2 separate regions of the Homo sapiens genome follow, and region 1 is linked to region 2. Evidence: promoter capture Hi-C in 16 types of primary human blood cells and fetal thymus (Javierre and others, 2016). All regions are on one chromosome and are shown on one strand. Each heading gives the region's core, a stretch centred on a gene start or on the middle of the fragment in contact. The rest is flanking DNA. Distances are from core to core; before and after follow the strand shown.

Region 1 (7,476 bases), core at 4,894-7,393, 630 kb before region 2:
TCATATTTGGGACAAGTATAAAGAAAACCAAGGAAAGGCTAGGACTAACTGCGAAGGGAAAAAGAAGGGTCCATGATGGCTGTCAGTGGGGATGATTCATCTAAGCAGCATATGCTCTTCCGTGTGTATTAGATTGAACAAGATGAAACTGCAATTTTTGTAGGTTAACAATAAATGAACATTAAGCAACGTCATCTGGTTTTGACCCAAGACATTTATTAATAATAAATCAATGATAAAATAAAACCAAAACACTTTATGCTAATAAACTTGAAAACTTAAACAAAATGGGCATGTTCCAGCCAGGCGCGGTGGCTCACGCTTGTAATCCCAGCACTTTGGGAGACCGACGCAGGTGGATCACCTGAGGTCAGGAGTTCAAGACCAGCCTGGCCAACACAGTGAAACTCCGTCTCTGCTAAAAATACAAAAATCAGCTGGGCGTGGTAGCGGGCACCTGTAATCCCAGCTACTCGAGAGGCTGAGGCAGGAGGATTGCTTGAACCCAGGAGGCAAAGGTTGCAGTGAGCCAAGATCATGCCACTGCACTCCAGCCCGGGCGACAGAGCTAGATTCTGTCTAAAAAAAAAAAAAAAAAAGCATGTTCCTAGAAAAATATTGTTTATCAAAAATTGACTCAAAATAGAATGATTCATCCTAAATTCAGATAGAATCTCAAGGGGCTCCAAATAACCAAAACAATTCTGAAAAAGGAGAACAAAGTTCGAGGACTCACACTTCCTGATTTACAAAATAAAACATATTACAGTGTGGTCCTGGCATAAAGACAGAGACAGAATATAATCCAGAGCCCAGAAAGAAACTCTCAAGTATATGGTCAGATGATTTTTGACAAGGGTATCAAGGCTACAAATTGGGAAAAGGGCAGTCTTTTCAACAAATGGTATAGGGGAAACTTGATATCCACATGCAAAAGAATAAAGTTGGAGGCTGGGCATGGTGGCTCACACCTGTAATCCCAGTGCTTTGGGAAGCCAAGGTAGGAGGATTGATTGAGTCTGGGAATGGGAGACCAGCCTGGGCAAAGTAACAAGATCCCATCTCTACCAAAAACATTAAAAATTTGAGGCTGAAGCACAAAAATTGCTTGAACCCGGGAGGCAGAGGTTGCAGTGAGCTGAGATCACGCCACTGTACTCCAGCCTGGGTGACAAAGTGAGATCTGTCTCAAAAAAAAAAATTAAATTAAAAATTAGCTGGGCATGGTGGTGAATGCCTATAGTCCCAGCTACCCAGGAGGCTGAGGCAGGAGAATTGCTTGAGACCAGGAGTTTGAGGTTACAATGATTATGCCACTGCACCCCAGCCTGGGCAACAGAGCAAGACCTGTCTCAAAAAAAAAAAAAAAAAAGATGGCAAATTTTGTGTTATGTATTTTTTCCCACAATAAAAAAATTACTCAAGAAGAAACAGAAAACCTAAATGGTCCCATAATTATTACAGAAGTTGGATTCATTGTTTAAAATCTATAGGGGGACAGGCAGGAAGCTACAAAAACAAGGAAGGCCAGGCCAGATGCGGTGGCTCATGCCTGTAATCCCAGCACTTTGTGAGGCCGAGGCAGGCAGATCACCTGAGGTCAGGAGTTCAAGACCAGACTGGCCAACATGGCGAAACACCGTCTCTACTAAAAATACAAAACTTAGCTGGACGTGGTGGTGCATGCCTGCAGTCCCAGCTACTCGGGAGGCTGAGGCAGGAGAATCGCTTGCACCCAGGAGGCAGAGGTTGCAGTAAGCCAAGACTGTACCACTGCACTCCAGCCTGGGCAACAGAGTGAGACTCTGTCTCAAAACAACAACAAAACAAAACAAAACAAAACAAAAAAAACAAAGAAGAGAAAAGAAAAGAAACAAAACAAAAAACAGAAAATAAAAAACAAGGAAGGCCTAGATGGTTTTACAGATGATCTCCAGCAAACATGGAAGTAACTGATCATCTCCATCTTAGACTAACTGTTCCAGTGAACAGCTGAAAAAGGAAATACTGCCTCAACTCACTTTACGATGTCTTGATACCAAAACCAGACGAGGATAATAATACGAGGCTAAAAAAAAAAAAAAAAACCACCCAATCCAGAATTGTATATGAAAAAAATACATCACGCAAAGTTGAGTTTAGTCCAGAAAATACAAGAGTGGTTTAACATTTAAAAATGAATTAATGTAATTTGCCACATTAACAGATTAGAGGAGGAAAACCCTGTGATCATATTAATGCATTCAGAAAAAGCATTTTATAAAAATTCAACATATAGCACACTAGGAATGGGAGGGAGCTTTCTAAATCTGATAAACATATCTACCGAATGCTCCCTGCAAACATCATACTTAATAATGGAACACTGAGAATGCCTCCTATGCTTTTTTTTTTTTTTTTTTTTTTTTTTTGAGACAGAGTTTCGCTTTTGTTGCCCAGGCTGGAGTGCAATGGCTCGATCTTGGCTCACCGCAACCTCGGCCTCCTGGGTTCAAGCGAGTCTCCTGCCTCAGCCTCCCAAGTAGCTGGGATTACAAGCATGGGCCACCATGCTCGGCTAATTTTTTTGTATTTTTAGTAGAGACAGAGTTTCTCCATGTTGGTCAGGCTGGTCTCGAACTCCTGACCTCAGGTGATCCACCCACCTCGGCCTCCCAAAGTGCTGGGATTACAGGCGTGAGCCACCATGCCCAGCGCCTCCTATGCTTTCATTCAAAGGAAGTAAAAGCAAGAGAAAGCAAGTCCAGGGAAGTAAAGCAAGGAAACGAAATCAGCCGGGCACAGTGGCTCACGCCTGTAATCCTAGCACTTTGGGAGGCCAAGGCAGGTGGATCAGGAGTTCCAGATCAGCCTGGCCAACATGGTGAAACCCTGTGTCTGGTAAAGATACAAAAATTAGTCAGGCGTGGTGGTGGGTGCCTGTAGTCCCAGCTTCTTGGGAGGCTGAGGCAGGAGAACTGCTTGAACCAGGGAGGCGGAGGTTGCAGTGAGCCAAGATTGTGCCACTATACTCCAGCCTGGGTGACAGAGCCAGACTCTGCCTCAAAAAAAGAAATCAAAGCTAAAAAGACTGGAATAGAAGAAACAAAATGGTCATTACTTGCAGATGATAGGATTGTGTACGCAGAAAATCAAAAAGAATCCACAAAGAGAACCCAAACATAATTATTAGACTTAATATGAGAGTTTACAAGGTTACTTGATACATAGAAATCCATTGTTTTTCTATGTACCAGCAACACACAGTCTGAATGGGAATTCAAAAGAAGGTAGCCAGGCGCAGTGGCTCACAGGCTCACGGGCCAGCACTTTGGGAAGCCAAGGCGGGAGGGCCGCTTGAGTCCAGGAGTTTGAGACCAGCCTGGGCAACATAGCGAGACCCTGTCTCTACAAAAAAATTACAAAATTAGCCAGGCACTGTGGCGCCTGCCTGTAGTCCCAGGTGTTTGGGAGGCTAAGGTGGGAGGATCACTTGAGCCCAGGAGGCTTCAGTGAGCCATGATTGCGCCAATGCACCCCAGCCTGCACGACAGAGCGAGACCCCGTCTCAAAAAAAGAAATCAGATTGATAAATGCTATGATATTAAAATTAAGACTTTCTGTTTATCACATGATACATCAGCAAACTGAGAAGACAAGTAACAGGTAGGCCGAAGACATACACCCCAGGGATTGGTGTGGAAAATACAGAACACCTGCAAAGTGTAAGCCAAGACATGCACGGGCATTTGACAGAAGAAATGAAAAGTGCTGCAATATGGCCGGTGGTCAAGGAATGCCGATTCAAAACCCAGCAGGGCACCATTTCACACCCACTGTATGCGCAGAAACTCTCAAGTCTGCTCTCTGGTGTACGTGAAGACGTGGTGCAGCAGTGGCAGTGGGGGTGTCCGCTGGGATGCCAGCATGGAGAGCTACGTCTTCAGCCCAGCAAACGTGAAGCCCACGTCCCACTGACCCAACGAGTCCCCTTCCAGCATTGAGAAGCCTGGCACACAGCAAGGAGACGACACCAGATCAGTTGACGCTGCCTTCCCATCCCTTGGTGAGGGGACCCGGCCATTGCAGGATAAATCCAGCACGACTCCCCTGACATAAGATGTTCCGGTTCCCCAAACCAGCCTAGATCCTTTCTGGTTACACCAGCTTCAGACCAGGGGCTGCCATAGCCACGCCTCTTATCTGCTCAGAAAGCGTAGAAGGTGCATATGCAGGCCATATACACACATATTTATGAAAATGGTGCTGCCTGTGGATGGATTTATTTTCTTTTTTCTTTCTTTCTTTTCTTTTTTTTTTAAAGACAGAGTCTTGCACTGTCACCCAGGCTAGAGTGCAATGGCACCATCACGGCTCACTGCAGGCACCAACTCCCAGGCTCAGGCGATCCTCCCACTTCAGCCTCCCAAGTAGCTGGGACTACAGGCTCGCACCACCATGCCTGGCTAATTTTTAAATTTTTTTATAGAGATGGGGGTCTCACTATGTTGCCCATGCTGGTCTAGAACTCCTGGGCCCAAGTGATCCTGCTGCCTTAGGCTCCCAAAGTGCTGGGATTACAGGCGGGAGCCACGACGCCCAGCCTGATTTATTTTCTTCTGTGGAAAGGAAGGAGAAACCCATTCCCCATGCCAGATTGCAGGCGTCTGTCTCATCCGGGGCCAGCAAGGACATGTGTGTGTGTGTTGGGGTAGGCATGGGGGGAAGGACAGGGAGAGGGAGAGAGGCCAGCTGGCTCCCCCAAGCCTCCCCTCCTGGAGCTTCTAAATCCCTCCCTGGCTCCTTCAAGGCTGCCTGGCCTTCCTGTTGGGGAGAGACCCCTCGCCGGCTGCTCACTCGCTTTTTGGTGGTCCTTCCCACGGGCCTGCCTGGTCTGCCTCCACATCCTCAGCGGCTGCAGGTGAGAAGCTGTGGATCTGGGGCCCAGTGGTCCAGAGCGTGGCCCGTGCCAGAATGCCCAGGTTCAAATCCCATCTCTGTGGAATGCACTCTGAAGAAACGACGTCAGGTCATGGCCCTGGGCAAGTTACCCACCTCTGTGCCCCATTTCTCTCCATGCAGGTTGGAAAGAATGACACAGCTGCTCAGGGAAGCACCCATACCCCGAGTCTGCTGGGCCTTTGAGCTCCAGGGCCAACACCTGGCCCTATACCCTGGCCGCCCCCAGGGCTCCAGCCACCTGAGCCAAGCTTCTCACCCCCAGGCCTCCCCAGCCCCATCACCATTTCCTCCTCCCTCATGGGCCCCTCAGTCTTACCGTCCTCCCACTTCCGCCAGCCCCTCTGTGGATGGCCCTGCCACAGGGGGAACAGTGCCCCAGCAGAAAAGCCCCAGGGTCGCCTGGATTCTCCTGCCTTCGCCTCCTGCCCTGGGTCCAACGCACAGTCTTCAGAATGCTGCCTCCCCAGAGCGCCTCTAGAACGCGCCCGCCTCTCTCCATGCCCATGACCACCACTGGACCAGGCCTCCCCACATTCTCTGCCCCAGTGCCACCAGCTTGCAGTTGCCCATGGCGAGACAAGTTCAAGTTCTCAAGCCTGGCCACAAAGACCCCACCTGATTTGCTGACCTCCGCCACACCCTGGGAGACGGCCCTTGACCAACCTTGTGTTCCAGTCGGTGGGAAACACTGGTTTTTCCTCAACGCCACGTGGGCATGTCACGTCCAGGCCTGGCCTGGGGTAGGCCTCAGCTCCATCTCCTGCCCAACGCCTGCCAAGGTTCATGGTTCAAGGTCATGTAGCCTGACGGTTAAGTGAAGGGGCCCTGTGATTGACTCAGCCTTGCCACATACTAGCTGTGTGACTTTATTCAAGTTTCCTAACCTCCTGTGCCTCAGTTTCCCAACCTGTGTTTGTTTCTGGATGGTGCCAGTGCCAAGCCCAAGCCTGGCATCCAGTAGGTGCTTCGTGCCAGGTTATGGAATGCCCACCCAATAGGAGGGCGCTGCCGTCTCTCACCTGCCAGGTGCCCACGGTCAGTACTCCATCATGCCCGCTGCGGCCAGCAGAGGGCAGCAACATCCTGCCCTGTGCCATTGGGCAAAGGGGCGGGCGGAGAGAGGCTGGGCTGCCTGGCCGGGCTTGTTGGGATGAGTCGGACTGGGCACGATTGCATTGTGGGGAGGGAGGCTGGGGCTCTGTGAGACGTGCTCCTGGCACCGCCAGCTGCTACTTGGCCCTCGCCGGTGGCCCACCAGGTAGGCAAGAGCTGGGGCAGGCTTGGGCTTGGGCTTGGGGTGCAGGGGCTACCAGCCTCAGGGCAAGGCATCAGGGTCTCAGGGCCAACTGGCTGGGGTCAGGCAAGAGCGCTCGGGTGTCGGCCCAGCCTGACGACGGCACTAGGTGTCTGGGAGCACGGTGTCCCCCAAGTGGTAGCCCTGGGGTTAGGAGGTGGGGAACCATGTTTCTTCCCCGAAATGGGAAAGCCAACGCCAGCCTCGGGCAGGGTACAGGGTAGAGAGGCTGCCCGCCTGGCTCCCCACCCCCACAGCCACCCAACTGGCCCAGCCAGGTGACAGCAGCCCACTGCCACCTTGCCCTGGAGCCTACTGCTGCCGTGCTGTGGGGGAGGCAGAGACCCCATCCCCAGTGCACCTGCTCCTGTGCCACTGGCCAGGGTGGCCTGTGAGGGTGACAGGGGGTCTAGCTGCTAGGTGCCCCTCCCTTCCCCATCCCCTGCATGGATGGCATCTAGGCCAGCAGGACGGTGCTTCAGAGGGTGGGGTGGACAGCCCCGGCCTGTGGACCCTCTGCCTCAGCCCATCTCAAGCAGCCTCCTCCCGTGGTCCTGCTCGCTGCCACCATGCTGTACCTGGCACCACTTCACCAGTCCCCAGGGGCAGGGCTGGGCTGGGGGTGTGGAGGAAGATCTTTTGGACAAAGGCAGGCATTGAGGGCCAGGACTGGCACTTCACCCAGGCCCCAAGGCTACCAGCCGGCATTTGCAGGGGCTCCAAGGTCCACCCCGTGCCCTTCACAGGGACCCGGGGAGCCAGGGAGGGGCATGCTTAGTGACACAGGGGTTGCAGGGCCAGAGGGGGAGGGCTGGCTGGAGGAAACCCCGGCCCTTTGTCCCCGGATCCCGGGGGTGGCTCCCTGAGGGTGGGAAGTGGCAAGGAGCCCCCTGTCCAGAACAGCCCAGTGGGGGTGACAGCACTAGCGAGTGGGGCCCTGGCCTGGCCTCTGGACAGAGGGAACATTGTTGTGGTGGAGGCAGGGCTGCCTTGGCCTGGCCACTATTGACAAAGCTGCCAGCTGTGAGGGAGCCCGGTCGCTAGGCCCTGGGCGCCACCCCCACCGCCGCCCCTCCTTCCCCAGGCCAGCTCGAATGGGGCTGAGCCTCGACTGTCTCCCTCCCACTCAGGACAATGCCCCCCCGCAGCCATCTCATGCCCATCGCCACTGCCCTGGGGCAGCTGAACTGAGCGTATGTGCCACGCCGCCCAGGAGACCCCTCTGCTGCACCACTTCATGG
Region 2 (7,545 bases), core at 4,539-7,038:
TGTGCCACTGCACCGGGCCTCCATTTGATGTACTTTTAAAGCATTATTATTTCTACCTTGCATTTACTATGAACACAGCCTTGAACGTGCATCCATCTCTCTCTAGAATAATTACCTGTAAGTGGAATTGCTGGGTCGAGATATATGTACATTAAAAAAAAAATTTTTTTTTTTTTTTGAGACAGGATCTCAGTCTGTCGCTCAGGCTGGAGTGGAGTGGCTCGATCACAGCTCACCACCGCCTCAACCTCCTGGGCTCAAGTGATCTTCCTGTTTCAGCCTCCTGAGCTGCTGGGACCACAAGTGTGTGCCACCATCCCTGGCTTTTTTAGAAAACTTCTTTTTGTACAGACAGGGTCTCACTGTGTTGCCCAGGCTGGTCTTGAACCCCTGGGCTCAAGTCCTCCCTCCTTGGCCTCTCAAAGTGCTGGTTTTACAGATGTGTCCCACCTTGTGTGGCCTGCATTTAAAATTGTAAGAGACACTAGGGAATTGCCTCCCCTAAAGACCCTACCTTTGATACTGTCCGTCCCTCGCATTGTACCCTCAGCGTTTACCCACAGCCTCACCAGCACCTTTTGGGCTAACAGCTTTTTAGGTAGCTGAAAATTAGATGGGAGAACTGTAGCTTTTCGCTTTTTCCTTCTTCCCTGTTTCCTAGTCCTGTTCCCCTCCCTCCCAAAGGGGTCATTTAAAATGTGGTGTCATTTGGAATGTGTTTGTTCAATTGTATTTTAGTTTTCTGAGACAGGGCCTCGCTTTGTCACCCAGGCTGGAGTGCAGTGGTGTGATCATAGCTCACGGCAGCCTTGATGTCCCAGACTCAAGTGATCCTCCCACCTCAGCTTCTGGAGTAACTAGGACTACAGGCATGTGCCACCACGCCAGCTAATTTTATTTTTTTGTAGAGACGAGGTCTCACCCTGTTGCCCAGGTTGGTCTCCTATTTCTGGCTTCAAGCGATCTGCCCGTCTCGGCCTCCCAAAGTGCTTGGATGACAGGCGTGAGCCACTGCCCTGCACCTGTGGATTTTTTGTGTGTATGGTTTTGCCCACCGTAACTGTCCCTGTGCTGCATTCCTATTCTGCTGACTGCTTCCGTCATTCAACAGGGTTTCTCAGCTCTTTGTCTGTGGCCCTGGAGACGTACAGTTGACTCCTGTGCTCCTGCAGAGGATTTCAGAGCTTGGATGCAACACATTTGATCATTCCCACCCTGAGTGATGCAACCCCAGGGCTTCAGCTCCTGGTGTGCCACAAACCATGCCACGAAGGCCATGGCACGGAATGTGGCCTTAGCGAGAAGGGAGAATTGCTCTTGCTGAGGTTATCAAGGGGTAGGATTGCTGGGTTCAAGAACACTGATGTTTCATTTTCTTATGTTTGTTCTGTTCTTTTTTTTTTTTTTTTTTTGAAAGAGTCTCACTCTGTCACCCAGGCTGGAGTGTAGTGGCGCGATCTCGGCTCACTGCAACATTCACCTCCTGGGTTTAAGCAATTCTCCCATCTCAGCCTACCGAGTAGCTGGGACTAAAGGCGCACGCCAGCATGCCTGGCTAGTTTTTGCATTTTTAGTAGAGACGGGGTTTCACCGTGTTGGCCAGGCTGGTCTTGAACTCCGGACCTCAAGTGATCCCCCCGCCTCGGCCTCCCACAGTGCTGGGATGACAGGCGTGAGCCACCGCGCCTGGCTCCTTTCCCATTTTCTAAGGGACAGTCAGTCTCCTCCATACCATTTGTCACACAGCCTTTCCCCCATGATGGCACTGCCATACTCCCGCTAAATGCGCAGGCATCTGTGGTCTCCTCTGCACTTGTCCTTCCAGGGAACGATGCAGTGGGCTCCTTGCTTTGCATCTCGCCATACCTGGTGCACCTGCCAGCTCCCTTAGCAGGACCTTGCAGACAGTTTCAGTCATTCTTGGGCATTTTCTTCTCCATGTGAAGTTTCCCATCATCTTGTCCCGGACCATTAGACACCCACATCCCTGGCTTCCTGGGACTCTGGTGGCGTGATGGGAAGAGCCCACTTCTTAATATTGTTTTTTTCAAGAGGATCTCATTCTTAGTCCAGGTGGCAGGAATGGTTTCCCCTGCTGGCCTCAGCTCTGTTGGCAAGGGATACCTGCAGTCTGGGGCCTGGAGTTGGAGCGCTCCAGACACGGTCCCTTCCTTCCGGGAGTTTCTTTCTCGTGGGTGAGCCAGAAGCAAACACCTCATCCCACAGTTCTGAGGGCCTGGGTGGGGCCATCGTCCTGGTCCAGGTAAGAGACCATGGAGTCTGGCCAAGCACGTTGGCTCCTGCCTGTAATCCCCGCACTTTGGGTTAGGGTTAGGGCAGGAGGATCACTTGGCTCCAGCAGTTCAAGACCAGTCTGGGCAACCTAATAAGGCCCCATCTCTACAAAAGAAAAAAAAAATTATCCAGGCATGGTGGCGTGTGCCTGTAGTCCCAGCCGATTGGGAGGCTGAGGCAGGAGCATCTCTGGAGCCCAGGAGTTCGAGGCTGCAGTGAGTGTTGATCATGCCACTGCATTCCAGTCTGGGCAACGGAGCAAGACCCTGTCTCAATTAAAAAAAAAAAAAAGCCGGGCGTGGTGGCTCACACCTGTAATTCCAGCACATTGGGAGGCTGAGGCGGGCAGATCACCTGAGGTCAGGAGTTTGAGACCAGCCTGACCACACGGAGAAACCCTGTCTCTACTAAAAATACAAAATAAGCCAGGCATGGTGGCACATGCCTGTGATCCCAGCTACTCGGGAGGCTGAGGCAGGAGAATTGCTTGAACCCGGGAGGCAGAGGTTGCACTGAGCTGAGATCGTGCCATGGCACTCCAGCCTGGGCAACAAGAGCGAAACTCCATCTCAGAAAAAAAAAAAAAAAAAAAAAAAAGACAGTGGAGTCCTAGATGGCGAGGGTAGCAATGGAGAAACCCACTTCAATTTCTTTGAGCCAACAGTTGGAAGGATTCCCGTGGGAAGGTCAGGAGGGAGAGGAGCCAACAGGTGGAACTCCGACAGTTCCCCCGTCCTCACCTTGTAGGGCTGCAAGATTCCTTGGTGCCTGTCTGGGCTCCAGGGCCCCCACCCACCCCTGCAGGCTTATGTGCGGATCAGCAAGAGGCACTCTGCTCTCGGGGCAGGTACTCGGCTGGAGGCGAGGACACGGGAGGGATTTCAGCCCTCTCGCTCCCCAGGAAGATGTCCTTGTGCAGAGAACAGCCTGCACGACCTACTAGGGCACCCAGGATTAGGCTGTATCCTCCGTCTGCCCAAACTGGCTACAGAAAGCTCATTTTAACGCCCACTAGAGAGTGAGGAGACTGTAGGTGCAATTTCTTTTTTCTTTTTTTTCTGAGACAGATGAGTCTTGCTCTGTGGTCCCAGGCTGGAGTGCAGTGGTGTGATCTTGGCTCACTCAAACCTCCACCTCCCAGGTTCAAGCCAGATTCTCCTGCCTCAGCCTCCCGAGTAGCTGAGATTACAGGCATGCGCCACCATGCCCAGCTAATTTTTTTATATTTTTAGTAGAGACGTGGTTTCACCCTGTTGGCCAGGCTGGTCTCCAACTCCTGACCTCAATTGATCCACCCACCTCAGCCTCCCAAAGTGCTGGGATTATAGGCGTGAGCCACTGCACCCGCCCTGTAGGCAGATTTTTTTTTTTTTTTCTGAGATAGTTTCTCTCTGTAGACTAGGCTGGAGTGCAGTGGCATGATCTCGGCTCACTGCAACCTCTGTCTTCCGGGCTCAAGCAATTCTCCTGCCTCAGCCTCCCAAGTAGCTAGTATTACAGGTGTGTGCCACCACACCCGGCTCATTTTTGTATTTTTAGTAGACAGGGTTTCACCATGTTGGCCAGGTTGGCCTTGAACTCCTGACCTCAGGTAATCCGCCCGCCTCGGCCTCCCAAAGCGCTCGGATTACAGGCGTGAGCCACAGCGCCCGGCCATACACGAATTTTTTTGAGACAGTCTTGCTCTGTCGCCCAGGCTGGAGTACAGTGGTGTGATCTCAGCTCACTGCAATCTCTGCGTCCTGAGCTCAAGCGATCCTCCCACCTCAGCTGGGATTAGAGTGTGCCGCCACGCCTGGCTAATTTTTAAATATATATATATATATATATTTTTTTTTTTTTTTTTTTTTTTCTGAGACGGAGTCTCGCTCTGTCACCCAGGCTGGAGTGCAATGGCGTGGTCTCGGCTCACTGCAACCTCCGCCTCCCGGGTTCAAGCGATTCTCCTGCCTCAGCCTCCGAAGCAGCTGGGATTACAGGCACCAGCCAGCATGCCCAGCTAATTTTTGTATTTTTAGTAGAGACGGGGTTTCACCATGTTGGCCAGGCTGGTCTCGATCTGCTGACCTCATGATCCGCCCGCCTCGGCCTCCCAAAGTGCTGGAATTACAGGCGTGAGCCACTGCGCCCAGCCAATTTTTAGTTTTTAATTTTTGTAGAGGCGGTTTTTCGCCATGTTGTCCAGGTCTCAAATTCCTGGGCTCAAGTGATCCGCCCACCTCCGCCCCTCAAAGTGCTGAGATCACAGGCGTGAGCCACGGCACTCCGCCGCAATTCCTGACTTGTACTGCCCCAGTGGTGTTACAGCCTCGAACCCAGTTTCCAGACCTAAGTCACCGCCGGCATCCAGAGTCCCATGATGGAAAGGGAGGCTAGGTTCCCCTGGGAAGGACCTTGCACCACTGCTGCAAGTGCACCCCAGAAATCGTCCCAAGCTTTTCTCAAAGGGACCTGCAGCCATTTATAAAAGCGACATATCATCCTGGAAAACAGGTGCGCTCGAGCAGGATTTCCTCCCGTCCTTCCTGTCAAAGGACGGGAAGACTTTGTTACCCCACCGCGCCCCACCTGCAGAATGGTGGACAGATACCTCCAGATGCCACTTCCCCCAGGACGCCCGCCTGCTCTGCGCACCTCTCCCCGGATGCTGCCCCGTGGGCGGGTGGGGGCGGCCCTGCTTCCCCACGACCCCCAGACGCACCCGGAGGGACTCTTGAGCACAGTGGAGTGGGAAGGGCGAGGTGGGGCGGTGCCCAGGCGAGAGCGGCTCATGGGAGGCGGCGCCCGAGACGCAGCTGGTCGGGACGGTGCGGGTCAGGGTGGGCGGAGCGGGGCTAGAGATGCCCCGGGGTTTCCCAGGCCATGAGTCTCCGTGGAGATTTCTCCTCGACCTCTTCCCCGCGGCAATGTGCGAACCCTGGGTCTCCAGGAAACGGGGATACGGGGCATGGCTCCCAGCAAGGCCTGGTCCAGCCTCTCCGGTAGGGGAATGGGTCTCCCCCTCCGGCCTCCCGGGTTGACAAAGGAACGCGGGCCCAGATCCCCGTATGGCGCTTCACCGCCGGGGCCTCTAGCCTAGAAGGAGGCACGGAGCGCGTGTCCGAGACCCGTGCAAGCTCAGGGACACTCTCGCGGTCGCCGGGAGGCCCACCTAGGGTACTTTCCTTTTTTCCACTCTCAGAAATATACGTCTGTCACAGTTAACGGCAAAGCCTAGGGCAAGAGTTCTACGCCCAAGATGGCCAGCCGGAAGCGGGCTTCTCGCGACCATGTGGCGAAGCCCCATTCGTCAGCTGGCCGCCCGCGGCCCTGGTACCCGGTCACCTCTCTGATCTGCGCATGTGCTGGGCTACGCCCGGGCGCAAGCGCCAAGAGCGGCTGCGTCTATGGTCATGACGTCTGACAGAGCGTCCACCCGTCTTCGACAGGACTCTATGGTTCTTACGCGCGCAGACAGACCGCCTATATAAGCCATGCGCAGGCGGAGGAGCGCCTCTTTCCCTTCGGTGTGGTGAGTAAGCGCAGTTGTCGTCTCTTGCGGTGCCGTTGCTGGTTCTCACACCTTTTAGGTCTGTTCTCGTCTTCCGTTCCGACTCTCTCTTTTTCGTTGCAGCCACTGAAGATCCTGGTGTCGCCATGGGCCGCCGCCCCGCCCGTTGGTGAGTCTTGAATCCGTGTACTTTCACTGCTGGGAAACGGGCGGGGAAAGAAGTGCCTATGGCCGCTGAAAACAATTGTGGGGTGGAGCCTCCCCCGTGCGGCGGCCCTGTCTTGGGAACTGACCCTATGTTTTACACCTCCCGGCTATTTTTTAGTCTGCAATATTACTGTCTGTTCCTTCGTTCCCGTGTCGGTGTGGAAGCGACGGTTCCCTCGTATCTCTGCCTGTGTCCTGCAAGCTCACCGCATTTTCGGGCGCTAGATACGCTCTTGGGGCCTTTGTGTGCGTTCTCTGTCTTATTTCCGGGCGACGTGCCGCGTGCGTTGTCGGACGTGAAGGGCAGTCCGGGAAAAACGGGTGCGGCCGCCTCCTGTGTCCTACAGGGGGCGCCAGACGCATTTCCACTCGGCTTGGAGGTGGATTTAGTGCCACGTGCCCGAAAGTCTTAAATTGGGTGACCTGAGCTGTGCAATGATAATGCGGCGATTTTGTAGTACGCAGTGTCTTGAAGAGAGAATTTTTAACTAGGAAAGTTTGTTGCAAAGTGTTTATAGGAAGCGTAAGACAAAGTAACGGAAGATGGTGTCTGTTGTTTCTAGTCTTGGGTGTTGTCTGTGTTGCAGCAGCCAACTGTTGCTTTGTAGTTTATTTCCCCGAATGGAAACGGTTTAGAAGTGGACGTGCATTCCCCACCCTTTTCCCGTCCCTCGTTTGGGTTGTTCCTTGAGGGGCAAAGTGCCTGTTGGGCTTTCTGTGAACCTCACCTAACCTGTGTTTTTTCACTCCCCTGCAGTTACCGGTATTGTAAGAACAAGCCGTACCCAAAGTCTCGCTTCTGCCGAGGTGTCCCTGGTAAGTAGTGGAAGAGCCCCTGCACTGGTTGGCTCTGCGGACTCCGCGTCCGTCTGTGACACCCCCTGCACACTTACCCAATCCTTTTAGATGCCAAGATTCGCATTTTTGACCTGGGGCGGAAAAAGGCAAAAGTGGATGAGTTTCCGCTTTGTGGCCACATGGTGTCAGATGAATATGAGCAGCTGTCCTCTGAAGGTAAGGCAGGATTCTTTGTTCGTCACCCCCCAGTCCTTCCTCCGTGCTCCCTCAACCCCACCCACATACACTGCACTGGAATTGGGAGTTGATGAAACATGAGCCTTACAAAACTCAGCCAACACAGTTCCCCTGAGCTGGAGATAGTCGTGGTGAATGTTTCTCTATTATCTTCTCTCACTTTGCTGCTTTTCTTCTCCCTACCTAGCCCTGGAGGCTGCCCGAATTTGTGCCAATAAGTACATGGTAAAAAGTTGTGGCAAAGATGGCTTCCATATCCGGGTGCGGCTCCACCCCTTCCACGTCATCCGCATCAACAAGATGTTGTCCTGTGCTGGGGCTGACAGGTGAGCTTGGTCTGGGCCTTTTAAGGCAGTTGGAGTCTCTACATTATTAGGCTTGCATTATTTTATCAGAGCATAGAGGTGGCCCCAGTGACTCAGCCACTATGGCTACTAGAAAAGCCAGGCTGGCAAGTGACTTTCAGTGGTCACTCAGGACCCCTTCCTGCAGATACAAACAAAGCATGAGTAAGTCTT

What was found. The method cuts DNA at HindIII sites, captures the fragments that hold promoters and counts their contacts. A CHiCAGO score of 5 or more calls a contact.
Region 1: the fragment with the promoter of PLXNB3 here is called in contact with the fragment with the promoter of RPL10 in region 2 in 2 of 17 cell types (total CD8 T cells and non-activated CD4 T cells); the score reaches 5.6 in total CD8 T cells.

Annotation. Positions count from the first base shown.
Region 1 is chrX:153,758,106-153,765,581 of GRCh38, forward strand. PLXNB3 (plexin B3) reads left to right here and starts at 6,144. Exons shown (of 36, transcript NM_005393.3): 1 at 6,144-6,199; 2 at 7,366-7,475. The coding sequence starts at 7,431. It overlaps PLXNB3-AS1 (PLXNB3 antisense RNA 1), which reads right to left. Exons shown (of 3, transcript NR_199696.1): 2 at 5,605-5,744. The HindIII fragment of the contact is 7,823 bases long and covers 5,188-7,476 here.
Region 2 is chrX:154,392,589-154,400,133 of GRCh38, forward strand. It overlaps RPL10 (ribosomal protein L10), which reads left to right and starts at 5,789. Exons shown (of 7, transcript NM_006013.5): 1 at 5,789-5,806; 2 at 5,909-5,954; 3 at 6,750-6,808; 4 at 6,899-7,006; 5 at 7,215-7,353. The coding sequence starts at 5,932. It overlaps LOC124905228 (a long non-coding RNA gene), which reads right to left and starts at 6,254. Exons shown (of 2, transcript XR_007068356.1): 1 at 4,997-6,254. RefSeq lists silencers at 4,832-5,011, 5,082-5,151 and enhancers at 5,154-5,699, 5,712-5,921, 6,244-6,789, 6,790-7,333, 7,334-7,545. The HindIII fragment of the contact is 9,726 bases long and covers 4,729-7,545 here.